Linked DNA regions of Homo sapiens: all the other regions are linked to region 3. The links are contacts of gene promoters, found by promoter capture Hi-C in human tissues and cell types (Jung and others, 2019). All regions are on one chromosome and are shown on one strand. The core of a region is centred on a gene start or on the middle of the fragment in contact, and the rest is flanking DNA. Distances in the headings are between cores, read along the strand shown. Region 1 has its middle 19 kb from the start of OR2M4. Region 2 holds the start of OR2M4 (olfactory receptor family 2 subfamily M member 4). Region 3 holds the start of OR2M3 (olfactory receptor family 2 subfamily M member 3).

The links. The method cuts DNA at HindIII sites, captures the fragments that hold promoters and counts their contacts. A contact is called where the count stands out against the background at its distance.
Region 1: a fragment that was not itself captured here is called in contact with the fragment with the promoter of OR2M3 in region 3 in 3 of the 25 tissues and cell types used here (adrenal gland, small bowel and thymus).
Region 2: a fragment that was not itself captured here is called in contact with the fragment with the promoter of OR2M3 in region 3 in 3 of the 25 tissues and cell types used here (mesenchymal stem cells, neural progenitor cells and small bowel).

Annotation. Positions count from the first base shown.
Region 1 is chr1:248,249,155-248,251,934 of GRCh38, forward strand. No RefSeq gene overlaps it. Among named protein-coding and RNA genes, the nearest start is that of OR2M4, 19 kb to the left of the region's middle. The HindIII fragment of the contact is 5,547 bases long and covers 1-2,780 here.
Region 2 is chr1:248,229,709-248,232,427 of GRCh38, forward strand. It overlaps OR2M4 (olfactory receptor family 2 subfamily M member 4), which reads left to right and starts at 1,709. Exons shown (of 2, transcript NM_017504.2): 1 at 1,709-1,872. The HindIII fragment of the contact is 3,002 bases long and covers 1-2,719 here.
Region 3 is chr1:248,195,691-248,198,615 of GRCh38, forward strand. It overlaps OR2M3 (olfactory receptor family 2 subfamily M member 3), which reads left to right and starts at 1,575. Exons shown (of 2, transcript NM_001004689.2): 1 at 1,575-1,611. The HindIII fragment of the contact is 15,210 bases long and covers 1-2,925 here.

The sequences.
Region 1 (2,780 bases), core at 172-2,671, 53 kb after region 3:
TATATATATATATATATATATACTGAAAAATAAGAAAAATATATGAGCAGTTATTTCACAGAAAAACAGACACACGTGGCCAGTAAACTTCTGACATAATTGTCAAGAGTGGTATTTTATCCCCATTCCAGCAGAAAAAATAGAAAACTCAAACAATACTGAATGTTGTTGAGTATGTTTATTAGCAAAACAATTTAGCATTGCCGACTAGAATGAAAACCGATATTGGCACTTTGGAAAAGAAATCAACACCATGTTTTATATTGGACTTTTACATTCCAAACAGTCCAACCATTCTATTTCTCTCCATAGAACCCAAGAAACTTCTTCCAGTATACTAGGAGTCACACAAAGGCATGTTCAAAAGGTTTGTTTCTATGGTAGATATATAAAATTTCTGTGTCTAAATAATATGATAAATAATTTTTCTTGTATTCACAAATTGGAATATTTTACAATAGCTGAAAGCAATATATTTGAGCAATAAAAAAATAGAATGAATCTTAATAATACCATAAAGCAAGCTCAGGAAGATTACTTGCTGCACAATAGCTTTTCTAAAATTTTATGAATCATTAAAGAATCAAAACAAAAGATGTTTAACATCTACATAAAGCTAAATGAACATGAGAATGAGAGGATGTGGAACATTGGGTTTAGGATGCTCAAAATTTTGGCAGTAGAAGTAGTGAAATGGAGTAAGGTGAGGCCACATGTTATATGTAAATTGCTATTGAGTTCTTAGATTTTATGTTGGGTGAAAGGTTCAAATGTACTTTTTAGATAACCAAAATTTAACTACTACTTAAAGGATATTTAAAGAGTCTTTGCTTCCATAATGACAGGCAATTGTAACACTTAGATGCCTATTTCAGTATGAATACAAATAGAATTGTGACATGGTAAACTGAGTGATCCAACTAGTCTTTGAAACACAAGTTTCAAAACAAACAAAACAATTTTGCTTTGTTTTGTTTTATTTTATTTTTTTTTTATGGAGAGGCCTTCCTTTACCTTCCTCTTAGTGTGTGAGCCTTCCTGTGGCCACATCTATAAAGACATGAGCTTGCCTGTGAATTTAGGCAGAAAGTACATAGAGGGAACACAGGGTATTTCAAAAAGCTCCATAAGCAACTAAATTGAGGAGTGAAGAAAAACGGACAAAAATAATGAGATTTTAAAAGGGTCTTTTGCAAATCTCACATATTCCCACTCATATATGGGAACTAAAAAAGATGATCTCATGGAGTTAGAAGATAAAATGATAGATACCAGAGACTGGGAAGAGTGTGTGTAGAAGGAGATGAAGAGAAGTTGATTAGTGGATACAAGCATACAGTTAAATAGAAGGAATATGTTCTAATGCCCGGTAACAGAGTACAGTGACTATACTTAAAAACAATGCATTATACATTTCAAAATAGCTAGAAGAGAGAACTTGAAATATTCCCAAACCCTAGAAATGATAAATACTCGAGGTGACAGACATCCCAAATCCCCTGACATTATCATTATACATTCTATGCATGTAACAGAATGTCACATGTATCCCATAAGTATACAAATATTTGCATCAATAAAAAATAACACAAAATAAAAATAAAGGGCCTTTTTTCCTGGCATTGATCACCGTATGTATTTCCTTCAGGGAGGCATCTAAGTGAGTGGCTATGAGAATCAATGTGTGAAGATGAGCTTCTGAGTCTTTGCATCAGTATGCTCATGATTTATACTAATCTACAATGCCTTAGCACTCTCATGCCTACCTATCATTGAAAGTAAAATATTATCAGTAATATACTACAGCAGTAATTAGGGATGAAAAGGATCTCAGAAAAAAATGGTTTAATACCTCTCACCCCTTTTTGTACAAATATAGATATAAATAAAATTATTGCCTGAAAGATTATCTAGTGGGTTATTATTTATAATATTCTTAAATGCCTGTACATTAAAATATTAAGAAGCAAAGAGAGACTAGAATTAATATCATCTCAACAACTTTTTAGCTTTCAGAGTTTGCCACACAATCTCTCTCAACCACTATTAGGTTTGTTGGACTTATTATAATATCCTTTATATATATACATATATTTTAATTTATATTTATTCTAAAAATGTTTAAGAAAGATTCTGAGGTCTTCTATTACTCAACAGATCATTAACAAAGTTAGTACACAGAAGTCGAAGGGCACTTCCACTGCCCTGAAAGCATTGATAAACTCTACAAAACTTTAATTATTTTGTTTTCCCTTATAATAATGGAGATGGGGTTGATCATTAACAAAGACAGCAAATCACTAATCACAGGCAACTGTTTCTCTGCTCCAAGCACGGGGAAGAAGGGAGTTAATTGGAAGAATGCTGTTCCGAGGCTTGTTAAATCAGGCTTCTGGGATTGTGATATGAAAACTTTTAATGAGTTTGTCAAAGCTGAACACCCACAGAGTCTTATTAAATAGCCTCTCATTAGCAAGAGTTAAAACTTTATTTTATTCACTCCAAAGTTGTAGCTAATTGGAGCCTTATTCTATTAGATAAATTCGGGGAAATTCTCAGAGACTAATAAGAACCCTTTATTAGAAAACCCAAAGGAGACAAACTTGTGTGGTTGCCATGGTGATGCTTGGCAGAGAAATGAGTCTCATACCAGTCAAGTTATCTTTCTATCTCTATGAATTTGAATATTCTAGTATGTCATATGTTTCCTTTTATGCATAGCTTCACTTCATCTAAGTTTTATCTATGTTGTAGCATGAACCAGAATTTTATTCTTTTTT
Region 2 (2,719 bases), core at 194-2,693, 34 kb after region 3:
CTTCAGATTAGACTGGCCCTGTCCCACAGGCAAGACCAATCTGCTCTGTCCAGTTCTGACAGTCGCCCAAAGCCTTATAGAAGAGCCTGGTGAGCCTGGGGGGATGGGCATCCCTGGCTGTGATCCACTGCAGTCACTTCAATGCCAAACTGTCTGGGCTTTACGCAGGATGGAGTCCTGCCCCTGTCATCTCTCTAAGTAGCTCTCCTTGCAGCTCAAGTATCTTTGAGAATCATAGAGTCTTGTGCTGCCAGAATTCTGGAGATCCACGTTGAAAGCTGGCTACTCTTCACCTGTTCAACTCATGCCTTCCCCAGGAGTTGCATGCAAGGCTTAAAACCTAGATGATGGCCAGGCATGGTGGCTCACACCCATAATCCCAGCACTTTGGGAGGCTGGATCACAAGGTCAGGAGATCAAGACCATCCTGGCCAACATGGTGAAATCACATCTCTACTAAAATACCAAAAAAAAAAAAAAATTAGCCAGGCATGGTGGCATGCATCTGTAGTCCCAGCTACTCGGGAGGCTGAGGCAGGGGAATCGCTTGAACCCGGGAGGCGGAGGTTGCAGTGAGCCGAGATCGTGCCACTCCACTCCAGCCTGGCAACAGAGCGAGACTCCGTCTCAAAAAAATAATAATAATAAATAAAAATAAATAAATTTTAAACAAGTCTAGATGATGGGTTGATGTGTGCAGCAAACTACCATGGCACATGTAACAAACTTGCATGTTCTGCACACGTATCCCAGAACTTAAATTAAACTTTAAAAAAAGTCATTGCTGCAGACAAATGAAAGCTTTTGAGAGTGGAGAGAAGCAAGACCAAATGTAGACTTGTTTTGAATTAGTATAGTGAATTTACTGGAAAATGCAAAGGATATATCTTAAAGATATAGGCCACATACAAGTCTTTAGTGCCCCTTTAAATTGTCAATCACATGCTTGCATACGTTTAGGCATCTAAGAGCTTATTTACATTTATATCAGCTTAAGCATTTGGTGTTTTTTTGTTTTTGTTTTTGTTTTTGTTTTTTTGACGGAGTCTCACTCTGCCACCAGGCTGGAGTACAGTGGCGCGATCTCGGCTCACTGCAACCTCCACCTCCCGAGTTCAAGCGAGTCTCCTGCCTCAGCCTCCTGAGAAGCTGGGACTATAGGCACGTGCCACCAAGCCCGGCTAATTTTTTTTTTTTTCTGTATTTTAAGTAGAGATGGTGTTTCACCGTGTTAGCCAGGATGGTCTCCATCTCCTGACCTTGTGATCCGTCTGCCTTGGACTTCCAAAGTGCTGGGATTACAGGCATGAAGCACTGCACCCGGCCCAGCTTAAGTATTTGATACAATATACTAGAAATAAGTTAAAAATGTTAACACAATTGAGAAGGCAGGTTGACAGATTTCATTTACTTTGTAATAAATATTCCCTGTTTTAATTTTAATCGCATTTTAATAATCTGTAAAGATTTAAGTTTCTCATTAACACAATTTACTTCCTAAAGAAAGGTAGGCAGCCATTTATGACTTTATAGCAAGTAAAGAATGACAGTATTGGCAAAAAGTAACTAGAGCCTTGGGGTCCACATGGATTTTGTTTCCTAGGAGAAATTCTGAAAGAAGGCATGCCATCTATAATTGATGTCAGGGGATTTAACATTTTGTGGAGGTATAGAATTTAAGGTCCATGATGCTGTAGGGTGGATAGGCCTTCGGACAAGTGGGTCATTTGGACTACTGGAGTTGCTGCTTTTGAATCTTTTCTAGAAGAGAAAGAAGAAAAGGTTGTAATACAGCTCAGGCAGTGATTATTATATTCCAGAGTATAAAGAACCCAGAACTGATTTGGCGAATTTTCCCCTTGATCACCACCTGTGAGTAAGACATATAACACTCTTTAAAAGAAAAAAAATTCCGTTATGTCTTGTGCTGACCTTATATGACTTTATTGAGGAAAATCACGAGTTCATGTGCATTAAAAAGCTTTTGGAACACTATACAGAATCACACAAGTGTAAGCCTTCCTCAACCTGATTATTACAATTAGGTAGTTCTTCACAACTACCTAATTGTGGAGTATCCTGGAAATGTCCTCATTTCTCCTGCAATCCTGGACTCTCTTTCTGTTTCATACTAAAAATGAAGGAAAAGAAGAAAGAGAGACATAGTATTCTTAATGGTTATTTTAATTTATTGAATATTTATTGAAGCTTTATGAGAAACATAACTATCTTCTACCTGGTGGATCTACACCTCAACATGAATTTACAAAAACAATCATATACCAAGTGGTGTCTATCTACTGCTTCAAACATACATGAAAATTTGGACTTAAAAATTTTCTACATACCACCCAGTGTAAATTTTTAGTTTAGAAATTATTGGGGAAGTGATTCACTCCCACAAAGTACCCAGTTTTCTTATTTGTGTTCTTAATTTTTCATGAAATATACTAATTCATAAAATTCTGACAATCAATGTTATAAAGACGAAGTAAAGAAAAATTTAATAAAATCTGATTTAGTTAAATTCCACAGTGTGTGAGACATTCTTGAAATCTGGACACATTGAATATGCTACAATATGTGGTTGGAAATCTTCAGGTTGGTAAAAATCACAAGGTCTAGGGAAAAGCTGGACTCAGTGGGGTTGAGCTTCTTTCCAAAGACTTTGTGCCCACTTAGATCTCTTCATAGTTTATGTGGTTTCTCCTTCTCTGAT
Region 3 (2,925 bases), core at 325-2,824:
TCTCAGCTCACTGCAATCTCCACCTCTCAAGTTCAAGCGATTATCCTGCCTTAGCCTCCTGAGTAGGTGGGACAGGCCTGAGCCACCATGCCCTGCTAATTTTTGTATTTTCAGTTGAGATGGGGTTTCACCATATTGGCCAGGCTGGTCTCGAACTCCTGGCCTCAAGTGATCCACCTGCCTTGGCCTCCCAAAGTGCTGGGATTACAGGCGTGAGCCACTATGCCCAGCCTGTAATATTTTATTTTAAGCTGGTGATGGGTACATTGGTGTTTTATTTGTTTTATACATTGTCATCCACTGAAATATTTCTAAATATACAAATAGCTATCCTTGTAATTCAGGCTATGAACAATTTAAGAAAAACAATAACATTATCTCAGTAAAAACAGGATATCATTCAATACAATTCAGTGAACATTTATTGAAGAAAGCATTGGTAAAAGAAATACAATGGGATTTTGCTAATGTGCTGAATACACCTACCAAAACCTCAAACAAACACTATATGTCATGGTGAACTATATCGCTAAAGGCTTCAGGTACTCAAGAATATTGTTCTTCAACATTTTAAATATATATATTTTAATCAAATGATGCAAGGAAAATAGATAAAATTGGAAAGACATATAAAGTTGTTTCATCCATTGTATGTAATATTTTTCTCTTCACTAAGGAATACAAAAAAATTACCATTCTTGGATTCAAGGTCTATAAGCAACAATTAACAGATTTCTATATATTAACAAAAACAAATAGAAGATGTAATAGAAACAATAATCCATACACTAGAGCAACGAAATATAAAATACCTATAAACATTTCAATTTTATAATGACTTTGACAGAAAATATATACAGGCGTTTTAAGGGATAGAAAACATACTAAAGAACATACAAATAGAATTAGAATTATGTAGGGAACTTTAAGATGTTAAAAATGCCAATTCTACCCAAACATATCTTGCTTTGATGATGGAGCAGAAGGAAGAGTGAAGAGAAACCATGGAAGAGGAATGATATTAGCCTGGAACACCCTGACTGCCATTCTCTAGCTCTGAGACGTCAATTTACTTCTGCCCTCAGTTTCACATGTAAAACATACGACAATATAATTAAATATATTATATAATAATATATACATGTGTCTAATAGGGGTATCTGGCATACACAATGGTTGTAAGTATTATGTTAATTTACAAACCTTTTTTTTTTAAACATAGTGCCAGTTACACAGAAAGCACTTAGTGTGTTTCACCTCATCATGTGAGAGAGAGGGGGAAGTTTCAGAAAGTTCACCCTAATCTACAAGGAAGGAGGCGTAATTATCTTTGTAGTATTTTCAAGAAAAGGAAGCTAATTCGGCTTCATGTCCTAGGAGAGGAGACAGAAGGAAATACAAACTTTTAAAATTAAAGACAAGGGAATGGATTCCCCAAGGGCTGAAAATTTAAGTTTTTGTCTTTTCATTTATTTTTCAATAACCATAAAGATTCCAACTGTACGTTAGGTGCTTTTTTTTCTTATTATGGAAACATAAAACCTGTAAGATATTTATATATTTTTGCCTTTCCAGGAAACCACAATCTCACTGAAAATATACACTATTCAGGTAAGTACTAAGAGGTAAGTTAACCAAGCGCAAGCATGACTTTGTATAAGCTAGTGCTGAAATTTCTGCTGAACATGGTGATGATTGATCTCATTTCTTAAGTCATTTTTTGTGCTAAGAATTTTATAAACATTATTCTATTTTATCTGTACAATATTACTTTGAGAAATGTGGTACAATCTGAGGCAGAAGGAGTGGTTACTTGCTCCAGCTTATCAGTGTGAAAGATTGGATAAAATCCATTACTTTTGTTTTTCCATGTCCTGGTATTCCAGATTTGAAAAAGAAATTGACAGTGAATAGATGTCAGAGGAGAAGAGTAGCAGATGAGAACCATAAACAATGATTTGAAAATTTTGGCCACGTTCTCTTTTCTTTTAATAATTTTAGCTCATGCAGGATGAGAATTCCTAAACCAAAATCTAATACCCAAAGCACTCCAAAATCAGAACCTTTTCAGTGCTGACATGAGATGGTGACACTTTTGCTTCCTGATGGTTCACAAACTTTCTCCCATACACAAAATTGTTTTAAAATACTGCATAAAATTACCTTCAGGCTATTTGTATAAGGTATACATAGAACATAAATTTTTTCCTTACACTTGGTTCTATTCCAAAAAAATCTCATTATTAGCTATGCAGATATTCCAAAGTGTGAAAAAGAATCTGAAATCTGCAACACGTCTGGTCCCAAGCATTTTGGATAAGGAATCCTCAACCCGTATTAATGAATGCTTTACATTTGTCATGTATTCTTTTAAGACGTTTACACCTATTTTTAAAATATTTTATTAAACTTCAGAGTATAAAATGTTTATTTACAAAAATATGTTAGATATACATTTTGTAAAATGCTTTAAAATATTACCAGTGCCTTTGAAAAACAGTTTAACTCTCTCTGATTATATAACTTTTCAGGCCCATTTTGTAGGTAGTCATTATTCCAGTATTGCTGTGCTTCATAAGTGATTTTTAGATGTGTGTTTAAATTACTCATAATAGGATTCATGAGGGCATTCCTTGTGATCTACTTTGTTCATTCAACATTCTATTTGTGAGACTCATCAATGCTACTTCTTGTAGTTATGCTTATAAATTCCATCGTTAGTGCACATGCAGGTTGCATTTTTATATTACATATAAAGTTGCTATGCTCATTTTTGCTAATATGAGAGATTTGTTGTTTTGTGTTGTTTCCTGATCATTCCTATTACAAAAGGGTAAAGTCAGTTTAGCAACCTCAGTGGATTACACAGTGGATTACACATGCTGTCTGATACATAATGCTTTACAACTTTTTTGATCAAATTCT